3 separate regions of the Homo sapiens genome follow, and all the other regions are linked to region 3. The links are contacts of gene promoters, found by promoter capture Hi-C in human tissues and cell types (Jung and others, 2019). All regions are on one chromosome and are shown on one strand. Each heading gives the region's core, a stretch centred on a gene start or on the middle of the fragment in contact. The rest is flanking DNA. Distances are from core to core; before and after follow the strand shown. Region 1 overlaps ACTN2 (actinin alpha 2). Region 2 has its middle 36 kb from the start of HEATR1. Region 3 holds the start of ACTN2 (actinin alpha 2).

Region 1 (4,621 bases), core at 671-3,170, 53 kb before region 3:
ACATTTTTAAAAGACGACAGAGGCTGATGTAGGCGGGATGAATTTTAAGGGGCAAAAGAAAAAGAAGAACCGGTCAGCAGTTACTTGCAGGGTCCAAGGAGAGAGAATGGTGGCTTAGGATAGGCCAGTGGCCGTGGAGGTAAAGAGAAGGGGATTAAGAGCATTTACTTACGATGTATTCTGGAAGAAGAGCCAATGGGACTGGCTGAAGAACTGGATGTAAGAAAGTGACAGAAAGGGAAGAATCAAGGATGAAACCTGGGTTTGGGGGTTGGCAACTTAGAGGACAGTGATAGAATTTACTAGGATCGAGGAAACCGGGAGGAACTCTTTTGGATATGTTCAGTTTAATATGCTATAATATATCCAGGTGGATATACTGGCCTGGAATTTGGGGAAAAGTCAGAGCTGGAAATGTAAAATTTGAGAGGTATTGGCATTTAGGTGGCAATTAAAACCATGGGCCCGCCCAGGCATGCTCGCTCATGCCTATAATCCCAGCACTTTGGGAGGCTGAGGTGGGAGGATCGCTTGAGCCCAGGAGTTTGGGCCGCCCCTGGCAACACAGCAAGACCCCATCTCTGCAAAGAAATAATTAGCCAGGCATGGTGGGATGTGCGTGTAGTCCCAGCTACTCAGGATGTTGAGGTGGGAGGATCACTTGAGCCCAGGAGATTAAGGCTGCAGTGAGCTGTGATTGTGCCACTGCACTCCAATCTGGGTGACAGAGCATGACCATGTTTTTAAAAAAAAGGAAAAAGAAAAAACAAGCCATGGGCCTGGATGAGATCACCTGGAGGGTATAAAGATGAAGAGGGCTCAGCACCAAGCCTGAGAATCACCAACATCTACAGGTAGAGGGAGGAGGCAAGGCCTTGAACAGAGATGGAGAAGGCCTCGCTGGTGAAGGAGGAAGAAACAGGAGGGCCAAAGTAGGAAGAACTTCAAGAATGGGGAAATGGGCAGCTGGGCCAAAAAAACTGAGAATGTAAAAATAAAAATGATCCCAGCACTTTGGGAGGCCGAGGTGGGTGGATCACAAGGTCAGGAGTTCGAGACCAGCCTGGCCAATATGGTGAAACCCCACCTCTACTAAAATTACAAAAATTAGCTGGCCGTGGTGGCGGGCACCAGTAATCCCAGCTACCTGGGAAGCTGAGGCAGGAGAATTGCTTGAACTCGGGAGGCAGAGGTTGCAGTGAGCCGAGATCGTGCCACTGCACTCCAGCCTGGGCAACAAAGTGAGACTCTGTCTCAAAAATAAAAATAAAAATAAAAATGACTTGCTCTGACAACATGAATGCCATTGACTTTGGCAAGAACATTCTTGGTGGAAGCAGGGACAGAAGCCAGTTTACTGCAAGTTGAAGGGTAAGAGAAGTGAGTGAGTTGGGGCTGGGCGTGGTGGCTCACGCCTGTCATCCCAGCACTTTGGGAGGCCGAGGCGGGCGGATCACCTGAGGTCAGGAGTTCAAGACCAGCCTGACCAACATGGTGAAACCCCTTCTCTACTAAAAATACAAAAATTAGCCGGGCGTGGTGGCGGGCACCTGTAATCCCAGCTACTCAGGAGGCTGAGGCAGGAGAATTGCTTGAACCCGGGAGGCGGAGCTTGCAGTGAGCTGAGATCACGCCACTGCACTGCAGCCTGGGTGACAGAGTGAGACTCCGTCTCCAAAAAAAAAAAGTGAGTGAGTGAGTGGGGAGGGAGCGGAAATAGGTACCACAAAGAACTCCTTCTAGATGTTTTGCTGTGAAGGGGAGCCAAGAAGTTGCTCGTGGGAGATGTGGAGTCCTTGGTTTTAGCTTGTGACTGGCAGATTTGACAGCACTTTTGTATGCTGGTGTGCATGATTCGGTGGAGAGGGAGAAAGTGACAATGTGGAAGAGAGGGAGATAAATGGAGGACTCAGACTTTGCGAAGGTGAGATGGGTAGCTTGTAACAGCAGGGAACAGAAGACACATGATCTAGATGCTGGTGGACATGAGGGGCCAAGGCCATGAGGAGGGACGAGAGAAAGAGGCTGTTCATCGAGCGTTTCCTAAAGGTCTGCTCTTTGTGGGACACTGTACCCCAGTGGCAGCTGGATTCAAGAAGTACATGATGGTTGGGAGAAAAGTATTAAGAACAAAGTGGTTACAGGGCCAAAATGATATTCACACAACTAAAAAGATTCAAGAAGTCAATGCCTCCTCCTGACCCAGGTCAAACGCCTTTAGGCTAGAAGGAGGGCTTCCCGTGGCGCCAGGAGGGCTTGGCGCTTGCTACTCACCGACACCATCTTGCCCTCGGAGGGCATGAAGGCAGGACGGTTGCTGATCCGCAGCTTGGTCTGCAGCGTGTTGAAGTTGATCTCCAGCTGGCATTTCTCCTGCACCTTGGGTGGCTTGTGCTTCCGGCGGTAATCCCGGAAGTCCTCCAGCTTCTTCTGCATGGCTTGCATGGTCTTCTCGGGAGTCCGGTTCTCCAGCCAGGGGATCGTGCGACGAATCCATTCCAAAAGCTGCTCCGCAAACACAAAAATACTGCTGAAGACACCAGCAAGCCCCCTCCCCCAGTTAAAAAAAAAAAATGAGGCATCCAATAATTTGTAAAGGATGAATGTTCCTAAAATCACTGAGATGTGGTACCTCTACGCACAGAGGCATGAACGAGATGTTCAGTGTCCGCCCATGGCCGCGAGTGATCACCCCAACGATACCAAACACAGGTCGAAAACTTAAAGTGAGCACGTAAAGTCGTGTCTTACAAAAATGTGACGTTTACAAGAAACTCAGGGACCAGACATTAGCAGACAAATGCTGGATGGAGCTTTCAAATTAAAAAAACAAAAAACAAAACAAAACAACCCCAAAATACTTGACATGGCAGAACTGTAGTGTAATAAATTCAGCAAAGAACTGGATTTCACTTAAAATGTGTTTTTAAAAAATAAGCTCAAATCTAATTAGATTACTTACTACACAACTGTATTGTAAGCCTGGGCCTAACTCAATGCCAAAGTGTATTTTGACGTCTAGCTTTTAAGTAAATCTGCATGATAAAAGCGAACGTGGTAGTGAATCCCTAAGGACAAAATACACATGCACCTCTTGAATTACTACCTAGGTCTTAGAAATGACTTGCTGAAAACCCCATCATTTACACTTATGCCTACTGAGCACTTGGAAAATGACAGCAGATTCGAATGAAAAATAGTTTAAATGGTGATATACCTAGAGTCTAAGGGTTTTAGGAGGATAAATGAAGGACCCAGTAAGAAAAGGAAGAATTGAATTCCTAAGGATCCTCTGGCCTTCAGTACTGGCCATGCTTCATGTCTGGCAACCCTGTCACTGCCATTCAACAATGCCATCAAGCTTAATTTTTCTATAGCAGCAGTATGAAGATATGAACTCAGTATCATAAAGTTACACTACTATTTATTGGAACATTTATTCCAAATGTCCTGATACTTTTCCCAATAAAGACCAAATATCAGCTAAATTAAAAAGAAGGCCAGGTGCGGTGGCTCACGCCAATAATCCCGGCACTTTGGGAGGCCAAGGCGGGTGGATCACCTGAGGTCAGGAGTTCAAGGCCAGCCAGGCTACCACGGTGAAACTCCATCTCTACTAAAAATACAAAATTAGCTGGGTGTGGTGGTGCACGCCTGTAATCCCAGCTACTTGGGAGGCTGAGGCAGGACAATTGCTTGAACCCTGGGGGCGGAGGTTGCAGTGCGCCAGGACTGCCCCACTGCACTCCAGCCTGGGCCAGAGAGCAAGACTCTGTCATAGAAAACAAAACAAAACAAAACAAAGCAAAAAATAAGGCTTGGCAAAAATTATTTGGTCTGAAGTATGTGTCACTGTACTTGAGTCCAATTTAGAGAGGAGGTGGCTGGGGGCCTCATGCAGCCCATGCTTGTATTTGGGAAAACAGTGCAGATGCAGCGAGGATACTGCGTAGTCGCTACGTATGCTATAACAAGAACGAAAAGAAAAACAACCTGGAAACTGCTGTCCTAACCAAGAGTCTAGCTGAAGAGCTCTGGAAAGGCACCACAGAAACTCATGCTCAAATATTCTGCAGGGAGGGCTCTGTCTTCCCCAGATTTCCTCTGGGTATTTATACAGACACACGAGCCCGAGCCAGCTCCGCACACCAGGCTGGGCCAGTTCCTTTGACACTGGGTCCCTATGTGGAGTGAGGCTTTTGCATATGGAGTGCATCCTATGTGATGTTGGTAGCCAGTGAACAGGAAAAAAAAAAAACAAGTAACCCAAGGTCGTCTAGGGGTGTCCAACCCTGGAGGTGCAGAGCTGAGCAGAGAATCGCATTCTCCTATCTTCAGACATGCAAACTATACCTTTCTGCTTTGGGATCGTTGGAAAGACCACTGGGGATTATGTTTTTGCCAAAAGTTAGGTTACTACAATAGGAACAACCTCAGAGATCAAGTGTATTTTCCTACTTTCATCCTATCTGAGATGAAAAATGCAAAATATATATATATATATATATGCCCCCACGGAGTATTTTTTCACCCTCTGTGCCTCAGCCCCTGCGTGAGGATGGACAGAACTGCAGGTCACCAGTTTCCTTTACCTCACTCGCTAGCCTCTCATATTCTTCCA
Region 2 (4,186 bases), core at 357-2,856, 46 kb after region 3:
TGCATTATATCTATCAATGTTTACCATATTAGAAATTAAAACTGGGGCATTTAAAAATTAGTATACTAATTTGAAATGAACAACAAACGCATGACATGTGAACATACATTTCACATAAAGAATGCATTTTTATGAAACATAACTCTATTTTCCAAAGAAATTAATGGTACCATAGCATTGTTTTACATTTTTGCACATCTCTTTATTGTCCGTCTTAATGGAAGAAACCTGGATTCTCCTGTCTGCTCCTGCAATCTGTTTTATTACTGAATGTCATGTAGCATGAGGAACACTTAACTGTAGACTCATGGCAGGATGAGGGGGCAAAGGCAAATAGTGTCTTAGTATTATTATAAAAGTGGTTCTGACCTTGGAAACCACCTAAAAGGCCTCAGGACCACTTTGAGACCTCCTATAGTACAGATATGACCATTTGTTGGGAAGCCATCCAAGAATGTCTGCCACACAGGTCCCCATTTCCCATTTTGGGATTTCCCTTTTAATTTCTTTTTTTTTTTTTTTTTTTTTTTTTGAGACGGAGTCTTGCTCTGTCACCCAGGCTGGAGTGCAGTGGTGCCATCTTGGCTCACTGCAACCTCCGCCTCCCAGGTTCAAGCGATTCTCCTGCCTCAGCCTCCCGAGCAGCTGGGACTACAGGCATACACCACCACACCCGGCTAATTTTGTATTTTTAGTAGATACGGGGTTTCACCATATTGGCCATGCTGGTCTCGAACTCCTGACCTTGTGATCCACCCGCCTCGGCCTCCCAAAGTGCTGGGATTACAGGCGTGAGCCACCGCACCCAGCCTTAATTTCATAACTAAATGTCCAATTCAAGAGTTAGTTTCAGAACTAGGAAAGTGTCTTCCCCACAGTTATGCATGTGCAATTCTTTATGGCTTACCAAACAAAAAATTACCAGCAATTTTTAAAACACCAGCTTGTTTTTGGTTTCCTTATACACATTTTTTTTTTTTGAAGACAGAGTCTTGCTCTTTTGCCCAGGCTGGAGTGCAGTGGCGTGATCACGGCTCGTTGCAGCCTTGACTTCCCTGGCTGAAGCTATCCTCCTACCTCAACCTCCTGAATATCTGGGACTACAGGTGTGTGCCACCACATCCAGCTAATTTTATTTTATTTTATTTTTTGTAGAGACAGGTTCTCACTATGTTGCTCAAGCTGGTCTTGAGATCCCGAGCTCAAGCGATCCTCCTGCCTCAGCCTCCCAAAGTGCTAGGATTACAGGTATGAGCCACCACACCCAGCCCTTATACACATTTTGGTTTCAAAGGTCAAAGGGTCTTTTCAGTCATGGCTCAAACAAATGACATCTGTGCTTTCCCACTTTTGCAAAAAGGAAGCCTCCCTCCCAAGCTCATAACATGAAAGCAGGGGATTGTGTGGAAGGACGCATCTACTTCCATCTTCAGCCTTCATTGCCATACTTCATTGCTGTTTGTCTGTGCAGCCATCCCTGTTCTTCAGGGATTTGATTCGATTTGATTTGATTTTGAGACAGAGTCTTGCTCTGTCGCCTAGGCTGAAGTGCAATGACCCAATCTAGGCTCACTGCAACCTCCGCCTTCCGGGTTCAAGCAATTCTCCTACCTCAGCCTCCCAAACTGCTGGGATTACAGGCACCCACCACCACACCTGGCCAATTTTTTGTATTTTGAGGAAAGACAGGGTTTTCTCATGTTGGCCAGGCTGGTCTCGAACTCCTGACCTCAGGTGATCCACCCGCCTTGGCTCCCAAACTGCTGCGATTACAGGCATGACCTACCATACCCAGCCTCTTCAGGGACTGTAGAAGACACGACTGATGACATCCAAATTCCCACTCTAAATCTCCCGCAGCTCCAAGGATCAAACTTAAGACTCTCCGTCAACTGTTGTCAACATTTAATTATACCCACCTCATCCTCATTAGACTCTTCTGTCTCTTTAGCTGCCCCCTGATAGCTGTGAGAAAGCTCACAGGGCAACATCAAGGAGGGCAGCCGAGGACTTCTGACATCTCCTCTGTGTGATCTTCCCTGAGTGCTCCCTTTTGGAAATGTCAGGAGCACTGCGGGCAAATTGCAGAAAAAGCTGGAGGGGCCTCCGTCAGCATCCCAGCTCTGTGCCAGCGACTCTCTGATGAGACATTGGGATTTGGAGGTGGGATACAGAATCACTCGGGGACTTTTTTTGAACTCCACATGCTGGTTCCTTCCCCAAACTCCTTGGAGATAGATCTCTCCTCACCCCCACCCTGGTTAAAAATCACTGATCTCAATGGTTAGGAAAGAGCTTTATTAAATTTAAATTTAGCATGTGAGGTTGTGGATAACCCTCTCTCTGTTTCTGAGAAACAACTGTTTACTATTCTAACACTCTAGAAACCTGGCAACCGACTCACAGAGGACTGGCAAATGCCAGCTAATGTGCAGCTGCTCTGCGAGGGACCCCGGCTCTAAGCACTCCTACCCGTCAGCCTGGTGCCTATGTTAGAAGGGGTACAAGACCTAGAACTTTTGCAGGACCAAAAAAAGGCAGTCAGGACCTATTTTTAATGATCCTGAGGATTATATAGAAAGGAAATTCCATTAAGTCCATGCAGCTCTTAAAAAGTATTTTGTTCCACTCTTTTCTTCCCCTGCCCTTCTGATTCTATTTCTGTATTTCCCTCTTTATGTTTATGGGTCTGGAACTGAATAGCAGTGAAATAAAGATGATTGTCCTAAAGTGATGTTCCTAGGTAGAAAAATGGGTTTCTAAAATCCCTGCTTCCACTGCTGGGATGGCAGTCTGGATAAAATTGCAGGGGGATTTGTGGGATCATTGAAGCTCTTGATATTCAGAGCGGGGATTTTTATTCTATTATCACTTACTCTCAGGAAAATGTGATGTGCGTTATAGTGACATGGGTATTATGGCCAAATTTGTCAGTGAACACGGAGAAACTGCCTTGTTCACATCTGTCTGAAACATTTACTGCAGGCAAAGCCCTCTGCTTGGATCCTCTTATTCTGAACCGCACACACAGCGCGTGATGCTTGCTTTTGGAGTGGGGTCACTGGACAGTAGGGGCAAACCGGTAACGGTATCTCTACAAGTGACATTATAGACATGCCATGCCACGTGATCCCCACGGCTAAAATGAGACTCTCGGAGCTAGAGGGAATGGAAAGTGATGACGTGAGACGCCTGAACAATATTGTAACCTCAGATGATGTTGGCGGCCAGTACTATATAAGCTAAATGAACTGGGGCTAAGTGCTTATGACAACATCACGGACAGAGAATGTTATGAAGTCGTATGTCATTCTTGGCCTGAAGTGTCCCATCTAATGAGCCTATCTGTCATGGAAAAAATAAAATCAAGTGTGTAGACGTCTTCAATATTTGATGTTGGAAATGTGCTCTGGAAGAGAATACAGTTTATGCGTTTAAAAGATGAATATGTTTTAGCAAAACTTGTCCAACCCCATTACCTCTGCGTGCATCTTGAAAATTTGCGACCCCAGCAGACCAGACATCAGCCAACAAACATCAATTTAATACTTACCATGATCAAGGCACTGAACTACAACCAGACAGATATAAAAAGATAAAACCAACATTGAATCTGCCCTAAAAGAATTATAAGCTAGTAGGCAAGGACATATATGTGATGAGTCATTTTATGTGTACACATATAAATGTATGTTTATACACCTGCCTGTCTCACAGTAGCTGCCATGGTTCCATTCATTATGTAGGTGATGCATGGATGAATGAGCTACATACATGTGAGCAGGGCTATTTTTATGGAGGTTGTACAGGAATACCCTTCTAGAACATTTTCCCCCAGAATTCTGAAAGCAGGGGCAGGATTCCAGAACTTTTTTTTTCTTTTTTTTCTTTCTTTTTTTTTTTGCTTAATTTTTTATTTTTACTTATTTATTTATTGAGACAGAGTTTCACTCTTGTCACCCAGGCTGGAGAGCAGTGGCGAGATCTTGACTCATTACAACCTCTGCCTCCCGGGTTCAAGCTATTCTCCAGCCTCAGCCTCCCAAGTAGCTGAGATTACAGGCACGCACCACCATGCCCAGCTAATTTTGTATTTTTAGTAGAGACAGGGTTTCACCATGTTGGCCAGGCTTGTCTTGAACTCCTGACCTCAGGTGATCTGCCCACCTTGGCCTCCCAAATCCAG
Region 3 (4,640 bases), core at 586-3,085:
ATGGGCAGACTACCTGTCCAATTCCTTAGCTATTTTACAATTCCTCATAAGAAAGCAATTTTTAAAACAAAGACCCGGGAGTTATCTTTTTTTTTAATCCATGAAAAGTGCAGTAATCAAAATTTGGGGAAATTCTTTTAAAAAAAAACACTCACTGCTAAAAATTAAAGTCACTTTTTAACTTCGTGCTGATGGATGATGCATCAGCTGGTCCAGATGACACATTAGTAATCCTCATGCCTCGTACTTCCTTCACAATCAGTCCTTTAAACAATAGTAGACGGCTTGAAGTTTTGTTTTTTTCTATTTATTACTCCCATTTTCTAAGAAAGGTAGGGATGGTAAAAGCCTTAAGAAACTCGGGGAGAGACTGAAATGTAGCTAAATTAGAGCTTTAAAATAATAATAGTAAATGGTATTTTAGGAGAGAGGGTAGACAAGAGACATCCTGATATAAAAATAGTGCTTGGTTATTTGATAATCATCTCTCCTTCCAGCTAACGCTGTTTGCTGCGAGAGGAGTTTGGGATGTGTGTTCTCCACCATCATACCCCTATTCACCAAATACTATCGCACAATCAGCTACAGTACCCATTATACAGAGATTCCCATACACACTATGGTCACCACAGGCTATCCACCTAAAGCAGGTCCTTAGAAGGGAAATCTATCTTGCCCCACGCCCAGAAAAATAGGCGGAAAAAAGTTCAGAGCGTTTGGCTTTTGCCATAACCCCGTTATCTTAAGGTTGGGTTGGCAGGTCTCTGTTGTCATGTCTGACCCAACCAGGCTCCCTGCCTAGTCAAGTAAGAGGCGGGATTAAGCCTCCTGGTGAGCATTCCCTATTTATTCCAGCCAAGAGGATCAAGAGGAAACCTTGAAAAAGTGGAATGTTCCACTGGGCCCCCAGAGAACGCCAATCAAAATGGGGAGGGAGCTTTTAGAAGCTGGCTGACTCCTTCGTCCCTGTGTGCTTACCTCAATGAATTATAAATAGAGTGTGAAATAATTGTCACTATCGGTAAATGTCTAGTGTTCATACAACATCCCTCTCCAAGGAACCCAAAAGATTGAATAAATGACTTTCCATGACTCTAGGGGCAGCCCGGTGGAAATTGCAATGAAGCTGATGTTCTTTTGCTTCTTTCAATGGGGAAGAGAGAGGCTGGGGTAAATGGACACAAGCGGGCCAGGAGAGTATAACTCGGGGGCCAAGGTCACAGACTCAAGGGGTCAGGAGCAGACCAGAGACCCCTTCAGATCTGGTCTAACGCGGGTTGGTGTGAGGAACAGAACCACATCTGTACCTCCGATGCTGCTAGCGCGCGCGCACACACACGACGCCCAGTGTCCTGCCTGTCCCCGGACGTGTCCTCTTTCCTAAGGGGCCCCCGGGGCTGCGAGGGCACAGGACAGCACAGCACCTCCACAAAGCGCCCTCTCGCCAGTCGCCAGGCCACGCGGCCACGCGCACGGGAGCCCCGCGGGGGACCCGGCCCCACCACGCGCGGGCGGCCCGCGGGCCCCTGCTGACCTTCCTCTGCTGCTTCTCCCAGGCTGGGTCCAGGAGCAGGTCGCGGTCCCACTCCTCCTCCTGGATCATGTACTCATCCTCGTCGTACACGTAGTTGTACTGCACGCCGGGCTCTATCTGGTTCATGGCGCTCGGTTGGCCGGGGCTGCGGCGGGGCGCGAGGGGCTCGGACGCACGGGCTGACTGGCAAACGGACCCACGGAGGCGGCGGGCGGCGGGCGGCGGGCGCGGGGTGACCTTCGCGCGGCTCCTCTCGGGGCGACACGCCTGGGCGCTGGGTCTCGGGCGAAGCACCAGCTCCGGCTGCGAGCAGCTGCCGCGCGGCTTAATAGCCGCGCCGCCCGTCACGTGGCCGCCCGGCCACGCCCCCGCCGCCACCGCCCCCGGCCCCGCCCGTCGGGCCCCAGCCGCCCCGCCCCGAGCACGTGCGGGCGGACAAGGGCGCCGGGCCCCTCCACTGTCTCCCCTGCAGCCGCCGCCCAGAGGCCGCCTGCACGCCTTCCGCCGAGGCCTCCGGGAACGTGAGGGGAGCGGCCGGCCCCGAGCAGAGCCACGCCTGCCACCCACGCTCTGAGAGCGGCTGGTTAGCGGCGCGGGGTCCGTCGGTGTCCCGGGTGGGTGATCGCGAGCCAGGGGAGGGACACCTAAGAGGCTGGGTCCCTGACCACCCCAACACAGCCAAGTTTTCCAAATATCATTTGGATATTCGCGTTTTCCATATATTCCCACATATTCATTGGAGACCCCTCTTCTCTCTCTCTCATCTCTCTCTCGTGCCTCTCTTTCCGCTCATCGGTCCCTCTCTCTTGTGTCTGTCTCTCGTCTGTCTCTCTCTCATCTCTGTCCCTCTTTCTCCAGTGTCTCTCTCTCATAGATCTCTCTCATATCTCTCTCTCATCTCTGTCTCTCCTGTGTCTCTCTCACATGTCTCTCTCTCCTCTCATCTCTCTCTCTCTCTCGTGTCTCACTGTCTCTCATCTGTCTCTCGTGTCTCTCTCCTCTCCTCTTCTCTCCTCTGTCTCTCTCTCCCGTGTCTCTCTCTCTCTCGTCTCTCTCTCTCTGTCGTGTCTCTCTTTCTCTCTCTCATCTGTCTCTCTCTCCTGTGTCTCTCATACCTCTCTCATCTCTGTCTCTCTCTTCTCTCTCTCTGTTTCTCTTCCTCCCTCTCACACACACACACACATACATACATACAGGCCCCTAAGGAGTAAAGTTTAAAAGCTACAGAACCCCCCTCTTCTTTCTCTCCTCCTCACCCTCACCTGGGGAAATCAAGGCACAGGATTTGGATCCATCCTATTAAAATGTTAGGAACCAAACCAAAGGCAGGAAGTGTCAGCTCTCACCTACCGGGCATAAATTTAAGAGAGCTGACAATGAAGGGCAAGCGGCCAGCTTCGTGTTATATTTCCATGTCGCCCTGTGGGTTGCACTTAACGCCTTTTCATCCCCCTAGTGCTGGCTAGCTGTTCCCTATCAGTTATGCTGCCGCAGGAAGCAAAATGAGGACCCTTGGGACAAGTAGGCTGAAATTTTTAAATCAAATATGTATTAAGCAACTACTGTAAACCAGAGGTTGCCTTAGGCACCAGACGAGCTGATGGGATGCCTGCCTGCAATTCAGTTTATATCTCAATTGAATAAACGTTGCCCACAGATGCTACAGAATTTTTTGTGATTCAGGGCTACTAATTTGTGGACATGTTTCAAGTTGAGTTTGTCTGGATTTATCATTGTTCCTTAGAATTTTTACATCACTCACCGTTACTGTTTGGGGCTTTATGCAGAAAGATAACAATTAGCAAACAGGTTGCATTAACTTTGTTTTGTTTTGTTTTGTTTTGAGATGGAGCTTCACTCTTGTTGCCCAGGCTGGAGTGCAAGAGCACGATCTCGGCTCACCGCAACGTCCACCTCTCCGGTTCAAGCGATTCTCCTGCCTCAGCCTCCGGAGTAGCTGGGATTACAGGCATGTGCCACCACACCCGGCTAATTTTGTATTTTTAGTAGAGACGGGGTTTTTCCATGTTGGTTAGGCTGGTCTCGAACTCCCAACCTCAGGTGATCCACCTGCCTCAGCCTTCAAAAGTGGGGATTACAGGTGTGAGCCACCACGCCCCGCCACATTAACATTTTCAAAAACATTCTCACTAGGATGTAAATTCCTCAAACGCAGGGATTTTGTCTCGTCCACAGTTGTAGACCCCAGCAACTACAGGCGTGTCCACCGCACAGTGGTGCTCATTTGTTGAGAGAAGTAGTATCCCTGGAAATAGTGACTGAGCTAATTTACTTGGATTTAAATTTAAAATTTAGAGTTTATATTTTGGATTAAAATCATACTCTTGAAACAAGTGGATCAATAAATTTTACCTATTAGAAACTGGGCCGGGCACAGTGGCTCAGGCCTGTAATCCCAACACTTTGGGAGGCCGAGGTGGGTAGATCACCTGAGGTTGGGAGTTCAAGACCAGCCTGGCCAACATGATGAAACCCCATCTCTACTAAAAAAAATAAAAATAAAAAAATTAGCTGGCTGTGGTGGCATGCACCTGTAATCCCAGCTACTCAGGAGGCTGAGGCAGGAGAATCGCTTGAACTCAGGAGGTGGAGGTTGCAGTGAGCAGAAATTGCGCCACTGTACTCCAGCCTGGGCGACAAGAGCAAAATTCCATCTCAAAAAAAAATAAAAAAAGAAAGAAAGAAAAGAAAAGAAATTGGATGTACAATTACAAAAAGTGCTACATCGTTCAACTTAGTTTTCAAAAATTAACGTGGGGACTTCATGAGATGGAAAAAACAGCGCCAGATTTACCATCCTGCCTGAAACAACTAAAGCCTGGGGAAAAAAACACATAAAACAATGGTTTTCAAGACATTAGTCATCAGGCAAAGAGGGACAATGAACCCTCAGAGGCAGAAAATAAATGATGTGAGTACTGCAATTGCCCCAGCTTACAGTCTGGAGAAAACTTTCAAGATGCAATGCAACAAAGAGGTACCCAGGCACAGCTTACTGGTCTCCATAAACTGAGAGTTCAGAGAGACCAAACATTAGAATTTGCAAGGCCAATTACAGCAGAAAATGGAGCTGCAAAGAGAGAGA

What was found. The method cuts DNA at HindIII sites, captures the fragments that hold promoters and counts their contacts. A contact is called where the count stands out against the background at its distance.
Region 1: a fragment that was not itself captured here is called in contact with the fragment with the promoter of ACTN2 in region 3 in 1 of the 25 tissues and cell types used here (pancreas).
Region 2: a contact is called between a fragment that was not itself captured here and the fragment with the promoter of ACTN2 in region 3, in 1 of the 25 tissues and cell types used here (psoas muscle).

Annotation. Positions count from the first base shown.
Region 1 is chr1:236,737,186-236,741,806 of GRCh38, reverse strand. It overlaps ACTN2 (actinin alpha 2), which reads right to left. Exons shown (of 21, transcript NM_001103.4): 9 at 4,593-4,621; 10 at 2,275-2,505. Among named protein-coding and RNA genes, the nearest start is that of ACTN2, 53 kb to the right of the region's middle. The HindIII fragment of the contact is 4,886 bases long and covers 1-4,363 here.
Region 2 is chr1:236,638,111-236,642,296 of GRCh38, reverse strand. No RefSeq gene overlaps it. Among named protein-coding and RNA genes, the nearest start is that of HEATR1, 36 kb to the right of the region's middle. RefSeq lists an enhancer at 2,209-2,766. The HindIII fragment of the contact is 7,227 bases long and covers 1-4,186 here.
Region 3 is chr1:236,683,694-236,688,333 of GRCh38, reverse strand. It overlaps ACTN2 (actinin alpha 2), which reads right to left and starts at 1,835. Exons shown (of 21, transcript NM_001103.4): 1 at 1,535-1,835. The coding sequence starts at 1,660. RefSeq lists an enhancer at 1-251 and a silencer at 1,890-1,979. The HindIII fragment of the contact is 16,282 bases long and covers 1-4,640 here.